Linked DNA regions of Homo sapiens: regions 2 and 3 are each linked to region 1. The links are contacts of gene promoters, found by promoter capture Hi-C in blood cells and fetal thymus (Javierre and others, 2016). All regions are on one chromosome and are shown on one strand. The core of a region is centred on a gene start or on the middle of the fragment in contact, and the rest is flanking DNA. Distances in the headings are between cores, read along the strand shown.

Evidence for each region. The method cuts DNA at HindIII sites, captures the fragments that hold promoters and counts their contacts. A CHiCAGO score of 5 or more calls a contact.
Region 2: a fragment that was not itself captured here is called in contact with the fragment with the promoter of ZDHHC2 in region 1 in 5 of 17 cell types (naive CD8 T cells, total B cells, naive B cells and 2 more); the score reaches 9.9 in naive CD8 T cells.
Region 3: a fragment that was not itself captured here is called in contact with the fragment with the promoter of ZDHHC2 in region 1 in 2 of 17 cell types (naive CD8 T cells and total CD8 T cells); the score reaches 10.2 in naive CD8 T cells.

What each region holds. Positions count from the first base shown.
Region 1 is chr8:17,155,022-17,157,731 of GRCh38, reverse strand. It overlaps ZDHHC2 (zDHHC palmitoyltransferase 2), which reads right to left and starts at 1,250. Exons shown (of 13, transcript NM_016353.5): 1 at 879-1,250. The coding sequence starts at 1,008. RefSeq lists a silencer at 432-1,791. The HindIII fragment of the contact is 4,757 bases long and covers 1-2,710 here.
Region 2 is chr8:13,723,796-13,726,702 of GRCh38, reverse strand. No RefSeq gene overlaps it. Among named protein-coding and RNA genes, the nearest start is that of C8orf48, 160 kb to the right of the region's middle. The HindIII fragment of the contact is 224 bases long and covers 1,507-1,730 here.
Region 3 is chr8:12,864,099-12,866,839 of GRCh38, reverse strand. LOC105379289 (a long non-coding RNA gene) reads right to left here and starts at 1,374. Exons shown (of 3, transcript XR_949509.3): 1 at 844-1,374. The HindIII fragment of the contact is 599 bases long and covers 1,106-1,704 here.

The sequences.
Region 1 (2,710 bases), core at 1-2,500:
TTTTAACATCTTTTTCTGATAACCCAGATCAGTTTTCATAAAACCCCTGAAGGTAGAAACCAGCTTACATTAAGCGACATCATTGTACTCCCTACTTGTGCATAATAATCAACTTTTTAAAAAATTTTAATCTTCAGCATTAAAAGTATCCTACCCACCAATTCAGGAACCTCGAACTCGGACTGGAGCCACTTCGCTCTCTGGATGTAAAAACCTCAGACGATCACCTCTTTTTTTCTCTCCCTACTGTTCAAACACCTAAATTATGGTTTAGTGTGTTGCACATGTCCTCAAAAATACTTTCTAGTAGCTCACCTCCTCCACATCCTTTTAAACTAGAAAAGTGTCCAACTGGCAATCCTCAAATCATAAAGGCAGCAAAAACGCCCCTGAGCGCTGTCACAAATTTTTAACAAGTGCATTGACGCCAACCAGCAAGGGATCCAGCTCCGCCGCCAAGGCCAGCACCCCCGCGCGGGTCTGGCGCAGCTCGGGGCCGGGCCCAGCTCAGCCCTTCAGCCCCCGGCGCGCCTCGCCGGCCTCGGCCTCCCCTCTCCACAGCGGTCCCGGGGACCTTCCGCCCCTCTAGGGGGTGTGGCCGAGGCGGCGGCGGTGAGCGGAAGGCGGCGGGAGGCTCGGCGGCGAGTGCGGGGCGGAGGCGCCACCTTAACCCGAGAGTTGGGAGGGGAGGGCGAGGGGCGTGCGCGTGGAAGAAGCTGCCCCGAGGCTGCTTTTAGCGGCGGAGCCGGCGGGACGCGGCAGGTTGGCAGCGCCCGGGGCGCATCCGGGGGGCGAGAGCGGAGGAGCGGCTGAGCGTCCCGGGACAGTCGGGGTGGGCTGCGCTGCGCTGGGGGCGCCGCGGCGGGGGGCGCACTCACCTATGCACAGCTGGATGGCGTAGGCGTAGTAGGACCAGCCGAGCAGGAGGGTGATGAACACCACCGGGATCCAGTACAGCACCCGCCGGCACCGCCGCCTGGCGCTGCTGCCCGGGCCCGAGGGCGCCATCTTCCAGCCGCATCCACCTGCCCAGCTCCGCCGCCGCCCGCGGGCCTGGCTCCGGGGCGGGCTGGGCGGGCCCGGCACCCCTGGCTGGACGGGCTCCTGGGCGGCGGCGGGGTGCGCTGCGGCCACTGCCGCCGCCGTGGCGCTAACTCCCCATCCCGCAGCCCCGAGCCGGCGCGGCGGACTCCCGGCTCCTCAGCCCGGCGGAGGCGGAGGCGGCGGCTGCGAGCGGAGGCCGAGGAGGCGGAGGGGGGCGGTGAGGCGGCGGCGTCGGGAGGCTGCGCTCCGCCCCCGCCGTTCCCCGCCGCCCGGCCGCCTCCCCTGGCGTGGCAGGCTGCGCCCTCGGGCGGGCTCTGCGGGGATGCGGGGCCCTCGCTCGGGCCACCTCGCGGGCTCCCACCGTGGCCCCGCCGCCTCCGGCTCGGCCTCTGGATTCCGGGGAGGCGGGGGCTGCTGGGCGCAGGCCCCCGGGGCGGAGCGGGCGGTGGCGGCCCCTCCCTAGGCGCCCGGCACCCGGGGCAGTTAGGTCGCGAGCGCTTCCGCGCTTGGCGCAGGGCGGGGGTCGGAGGCGAGGCCGGCGGAGCAGCTGCTGCGCTCGGGACTCCGCGCCTGCCGCGACCCAGGCGCCCTGAGAAAGTCTGCAGCACCGAGGCCCGCGTCCCCGCAGCCCGCGTGGAACCCTCGCGCTTCAACTTGCGGGTCCCTGGGAGCCCGCGGGGGCCGCAAGGAGCCTCCCTTTACTACTCGGGCTTTCGGGGGAAGCAGAAATGCACAGCGAAGAGGGGGTGCCGAGCCGGCGTCTGGCATGGGAGGGGCTGTGGAGAGCGAGGAAGAAGCATTTTTGGCTGTGAATCCAGGCACCTCTGGAGTTAGAAACACAAGTTCTTTGCTCTGAGAATGTTGATGCTTTGGATAAATGATTGTGACAGGGGCCGTTCCCACTGTCCCCTCCCTCAAGTACGGTGGTTCCTTCCACCAACTATTTATTCTTTTCCTCAACCCGCTCCTCACTACGGTGTTTACTTTCGTGGTGGCAATTCCAAACTTAGCAGATAGCTGACTCCAAAGCGGTTCCCAAAAAACACCGTAAGGGAACCTAAAGGTAGTCAGCCCAAACCTCTGATTTTATGATTCACGAAATGGAAAATAAACAAATGCCTCCTTTGCTTTTCCTTCATCTGATTATGAACGCACCTGATCCACAGGGAAACATTTCAATCAATGAGTGTGTGTAAATTATGTGCATCACTACTATACATAATAGGCACAATTTTTCTTAACATTAGTGAATATGTGTATTTACACCACACAGCAACCACAGTGAATGAAATTACTTCTTATTCATGTGTAGAAGTAAAAAAAAAATACTGATTTACATGAATTCAGTCAAAGAAATTTAGCTCTGGTGTCTGCGATTATCTTTCTGTGACTGGATTACACAACAAGCTAATCTCTCCCGAAATAGCTACTATGTTACAGCCCCCCACCCCACATCTCTTTCCATTTCTCTTCAAAAATGCATAGAAAATGTCAGTCAAGTTTCTGTGGGACTTTAAATAATTGAAAAGAGAGACATATTATGTCCCAGTGAATCACTTGATTTTGCTGTAGCCTTTTATATTCTCTGTGGATATTCTGTATATTAATGTAAAAATAAAACTTCTCTGGATTCCTTAATGTTTTCCATGAATATTAATCCTGTGTT
Region 2 (2,907 bases), core at 369-2,868, 3.4 Mb after region 1:
AGCAATCCTCCCACCTCAGCCTCCTGAGTAGCTGAGACTACAGGCATGGACCAGCATGCCTGGTTTGTTTGTTTATTGGTAGAGAGAAGGTCTCCCTTTGTTGCCCATACTGGGTCCCTCAACTCTTTAATGACAAATTTAAAGTGTATAGACATAAACCTGGTAAGTTTAAGCTCTTACACATTTATAAAACTGAAAATGATAAACAAAAATTGACACAACCCACATAACTGACTCACATTAACGAAATTTCACGGTGGTCACTAAATTGCTCGTTGTAACTCAAACATGACTGTTCTAGGGCAGGTTTCTTTGGAAGGCAGCTGGTCTACCCCACGTTGGTTGAATAAGGAGTCAATTCTTCCACCTTTCTTATTTTACTCAAAGGTCTGTGAAACTCTGTTTCATGTTTAAAACTCAACAACCCTCAGAACTGTGTTCACAGATAGATCCAATCATTTATCCATATTCAGGGTGTCTTATCTTCTTCTTTGAACTATTTTCTGACTTGCAGCATTCCCATCTGTAAGAATCTGATCAATGACGAATTAATTGCAAGGTTACCTCCGTGTATTCCAACCTGGATATCTATGCTGCAATGCCATGTTTATCTTCTTACTCAAATCCCAATATTGATAATGCAAGTTAACCATGTGTTATGACCATTTCCTGATATACATTTTGCCTGTGGCAGTTTTAAAATGTATCCATTATTTTTTTGTCATCTCATCCCACTAACAGGTGGTGTTGCCATATCCTTCTGATCTTTGAATCTGAACTGGCCTTGGTGGCTCAGTAGTAATGAACAGACATAAAGGAACAAAAGTGACACTGCGTGCCTTCAGAAGCTAGATCATTAAAAATAGCACTGCTTTTGCTCTGCCCACTGGAGCACTCAGGCTTGGACCCATGAGCCACCATAGTGGAACCACTCTGATATTGATATGCTGTGAAGAAACTCAATCCACTGAAGAAACCACAGGTAGGGGCTCTAGTTGAAAGGTCCAGTTGTTAAATTAACTCGCATTACCTCTTGTCCCTCAAAGCTGCCTTAAGGCTTATTTTGGAGTCACATTGCTAAGCCTTGGGTTTTTATGTCCTTAATTTGTTAATCAGTGTATTTTCTGAGATTTACCAGGAAATGCAGTTGACAGCACAGTTCCAATAATTATTGGAAGAACAAGGTCAGAAGTTCAAAAAGAAAAGGAAAGAAAAAGATAAAAAGAAAACAGAAAAGAAAAGAAAAAGAAGAAAAGAAAAAAGGAAATCTGGTACAAAACACGGGCCAAGGGTCTTTAGCATTCCCAGAGGGAAACTTGGACAGAAATTCAAACAAAAAAGCTTTTAAAAAGCTGACACTGTATTGTATACTTAGTTTAATGCTAAATATGTATCTTTATCTAGCAATAATTAAAGACTGAAGGAACATTTTTTGTTTGATACTTTTTGATATGCATTATTAGTCATTCACACTTCTATGTATTTAGCCACTCACCAAGGAAAGCTTCTTGTGAGAAGTGTTATACTTGAACAGCTATAAATTGGCTGAATTTTTTAAAAATGGAAATTGAAAGATAGCCATCCCACCTTCACATAGCAGTCTAAAACTGGATAAAGCATTATGCTATAAGTTTTATTTCATACTTAATAATAAAGTTGGAATGTGCAAATTATTGCTACCCTACAATTGTGATATAAAATATTCTGAACCACGTTTGACAGTCCAAGCTTTCTAAATTTCAAAAATTAACATTATAGGCACACTGACTTTCTTTTAGAGTCCAAAATTCCAAAAGGCAAGAATAACGTACAAATGCTTTTGAAGTCAGATAGATGCTGGTCAGGTATGATTAAAAACATTTTGCCTTTGTTTAATCAATTAATTTTTATATCATCCAAACACGCAAGCAAATCTTTAAGATATGTGATTGTTTGTTGCATTTATAAATTTGTGTTTGGCTCTAATCTGAAGGCGTTTGTAACAAATGTGTCTCCTAATAGAGTGGCTTTTCTTCTGGGGTGGATACAGTTCTCCAGTGGCACCAGAGACTTCAAGCACACTGCTGACAGACAAGAGGCTGTCAGTTTAACAGAGTCCTATCACATAGTAAATCAATACGTTAACCCACAGGCAACCCCTTAGCATGCAGGTGTGCAGGCTAGAACTTTCCAGCTTCTCTGGGTGTGTGTTAGTATGTTTAAGCATTAGTGTAGTATGTTGAGTTCTCTTTTCAATGTTTCTGCTTACTGTGATCATGATATCAGCATCAAAATTTCTAATATTTTGCTCTTAAGTATACAAACAAGTAAAACAAGCCAGCAAATCAACTCTTACTTACTTTGTGTTACCTGCATCCTACACCAATACTGGGTTAAGTACTTTCAATAAAGCTCAATCGATCATGAAAACCCCTGTTTTGCAGAAGAGGCTCACAGGGATCAAGTGATTTGTCCTTGATTATGTAACAATTATGTGAAGCAACAAAAAGGATTTGAACCTACCTCATCTGACCTCCTTGTCAGATTAAACCATAAAGTAATTTTAACATTCAGTAATGGACACAGTTTAATCTGTTTCAAGCACCAAAAATGTAACATAAAATTTACAAAGAATGTTTTATCAATAATGTATCTTATTTAAACATGAAACCCCCCTGGGTCCATGAACCCCAGGTTTATTTTTCTCTATAAAAATTCAGCACCTGAATTGTGGGCAGTATACCAGAAGTGGTCAATGATCTTAAGCAGCTTGCACCATGTCAGGTCCCAAAGCTCTAAAACTGCATACTTAAATATATATACTATGTACACATTGTTTGTGTATCTCTCACTCCATGTGAAAGAAACTCTGAAAATTAAAAAGGCTTTTTGCCCTAAGGGAGATGGAACACAGTGTGCCAAACCCCT
Region 3 (2,741 bases), core at 156-2,655, 4.3 Mb after region 1:
ACCAAGAACTAAGAGAGACGAGAGATCAGTATAGTTTAAAGGCAGCAAGTGGTGTGCTGGTAAGTGTTTAACAACCGGGCTCTCTGAAAAGCCTGATTTGTAGCATTTGCCAACTTTTCTGGTGTAAATAATTCTACAGTGGCTCATTACAAGTTACCAACGTGAAGTCACTGAAAGTGGAGTTGGGAAAGATGCTCATTTGCTGCCACAAGCTGGCTCCAGCATACCTCTGATTGAAGATGAGAAGGTTTGAGCTGGATTTTATATTCTGCAAAGAATATGTAAGCGCTAATAGCTCATAGTAGAAAAACCATGTGCTTAAAAGTTTGATAGATCCACATTTAAATCCAGCTCCACTGCTTTCTAGCTTTTAGCAATGTGTTTTTTGAATCTAAGTGTTAATGTCTTTAAAATGAGCTGATAATACCTACCTTTCAAGGTTATTGAAAAATTAGAAAGGATAATGTATATAAATCACCTCAGCAGAATGTATATTTCTAATAAGTGGTGAGCTGACTATCCAAAGCCACCAGAGGACAAGATGTTCAGGCACAAAGATGCTGAAATGGGGGCTAGCACACTGAGCAAACTCTTGTCCTCTAATCCCAGAGAGTTTATATCTAGGAAGAGCAGTCTGCTTAACTGGCTATGAGGAAGTCATTCTGGTCATAATGAGAGATACATATTGGAGGAATGTGGAGCACTAATATCAGATAAATATTGTGTCTCGATTTTGGTTTTCTGCATAGGAAGCAAGAGAAGGAAATTCATTGTCAAATAATAGAGAACACATTGCTTTGGGAACTCTGGTTCTGACCTAATGGCAGAAGGAACAAGACTTACCTGTCTCTTTGTTGTCTTTCTGTTGGAGTGGATTTGTTTCTAGTCTTTGCTCTTAATAGGGAGCAGTACTTTGAAAGTGCTGACTTTATGTAGGCCCCTTGGTTCCAACTTCCCATTTGAGAAAGACTCAAGGCTTCATTCATCTCCCCTCTTCTTTTTCGTATTAACAGAGATGCCCCAGGTAACTGAAGATCAGCAGATTCCTAGATTGCTGAGACTAACAACCTGTCCTCTGGAAGCCAGAGCATCACTGCTCAAAGCTTCTCACTGTGGTTTTAGTTCCAGGTTCATTTCTGAACTGTGTCTACATTAGATAATAAAAATATATTATATTTTAGCCAGTATTTCTAGGTGCTTTTAGTGGAAGGATTTTCAAATTCTGTCCTCCACAAGCCGATAGCTGTCAAATAAGTTTATCCCTCCAATCCTATAGGCCAAACAATCTCCAGTTCTATCAGTTAAACGTCCCATTTCAAACCAGTCCAAACTCTTGCCCTGCTACTCAACTCCCAACCTGGCTCACATTTTCAACTTCAGTTTCCCCAGGCATATCCAATCCCCCTACCCTCTGATCAAACTAGAAAACACTCTCTATGATCTAACAATCCACAAAGCAAATACTGCATGGTTCGAAGTCTGTGACAGTAGATGTTTTTTTGATTTGAAGAAGAAGAATAGAAGCATCAAGAATCCTCGCAGAAAAGTTTTTAAATGATTTGTAAAGGATTCATTTAAAAATGATTTTGTTAAGACCCTCCCATGGTAATTGCTAATATTTATAAAACCCAAATTTATGCCTGAAAGTTTCAGTAATTGAGAACAAAAGTAACATCTAAAAACCCCATTACAAACAAACAAGCTTTTTTTTAGTATAAAGTCTTACATTAGTATAAAGTTCTTAGTCTTTACTGTTGAGTCCTTGATGTAAAGTCTTAACTAGTTTTTCTTTTTCTTTTTTTTTAGAGATGGGGTCTGATTATGTTGCCCAGGTTGGCCTTGAACTCCTGGACTCAAGTAACCTCCACTTAGGCCTCTCAAAGTGCTGGGATAACAGATGTGAGCCACTGTGCTCAGCTTCTTTACATTTTTAGTGTAAACTTAGGGTAAAATCTCCTATTGTAGAAGCTTCTATTGTGGTCAATGTAATATGTCAAATTGACTAGGTTATGGTACCCAGATGTTTGGTCAAACACTAAACTGGATGTAGCTGTGAAGGTATTTTTAGAATAAACTTAACATTTAAATCAGTAGACTTTCAGTAAAATAGACTACCCTTCATAATATGGGTAGGCCTCATTCAATCAGGTCTTAGGAGAAAAGACTGAAGCATCCCAAAGAGGAAGAAACTCTGCCTCAAGATTTCAATATAGAAACACTGCCTGGGTGTCCAGCCTGCAGATTTTGGATTCAGGTCTTCAACTTCAACTCTTGCTGAATTTCCAGCCTGATGGTTTGCTGTACAGATTTTGGACTTGCGAGACTTTCCGCCAGATGCTTCCTCTCACCCCTTGTCCCTGGCATGGCTTTATTCCAGAACCTCTGTCAAAATATACTTTATGGGTGGCTACTCTGGCTTAATGAAGAGATAGAGATGGCAAACTTCTCATCAAGTCATATTTGTTTGGCTCTCCAAAAAATGTATTAAGCTATTAATATATTTGCAGCACTGGGGCCACCTCAAAAATGGGTTAAAAGATGGGTTCTTCTGGCAGGGCGTGGTGGTGCATGCCTGTAATCCCAGCACTTTGGGAGGATGAGGCGGGTGGATCACCTGAGGTCGGGAGTTTGAGACCAGCCGGACTAACATGGTGAAACCCCGTCTCTCCTAAATACAAAAAAAATTAGTCAGGCATGGTGGCAGGTGCCTGTAATCCCAGCTACTCAGGAGGCTGAGACAG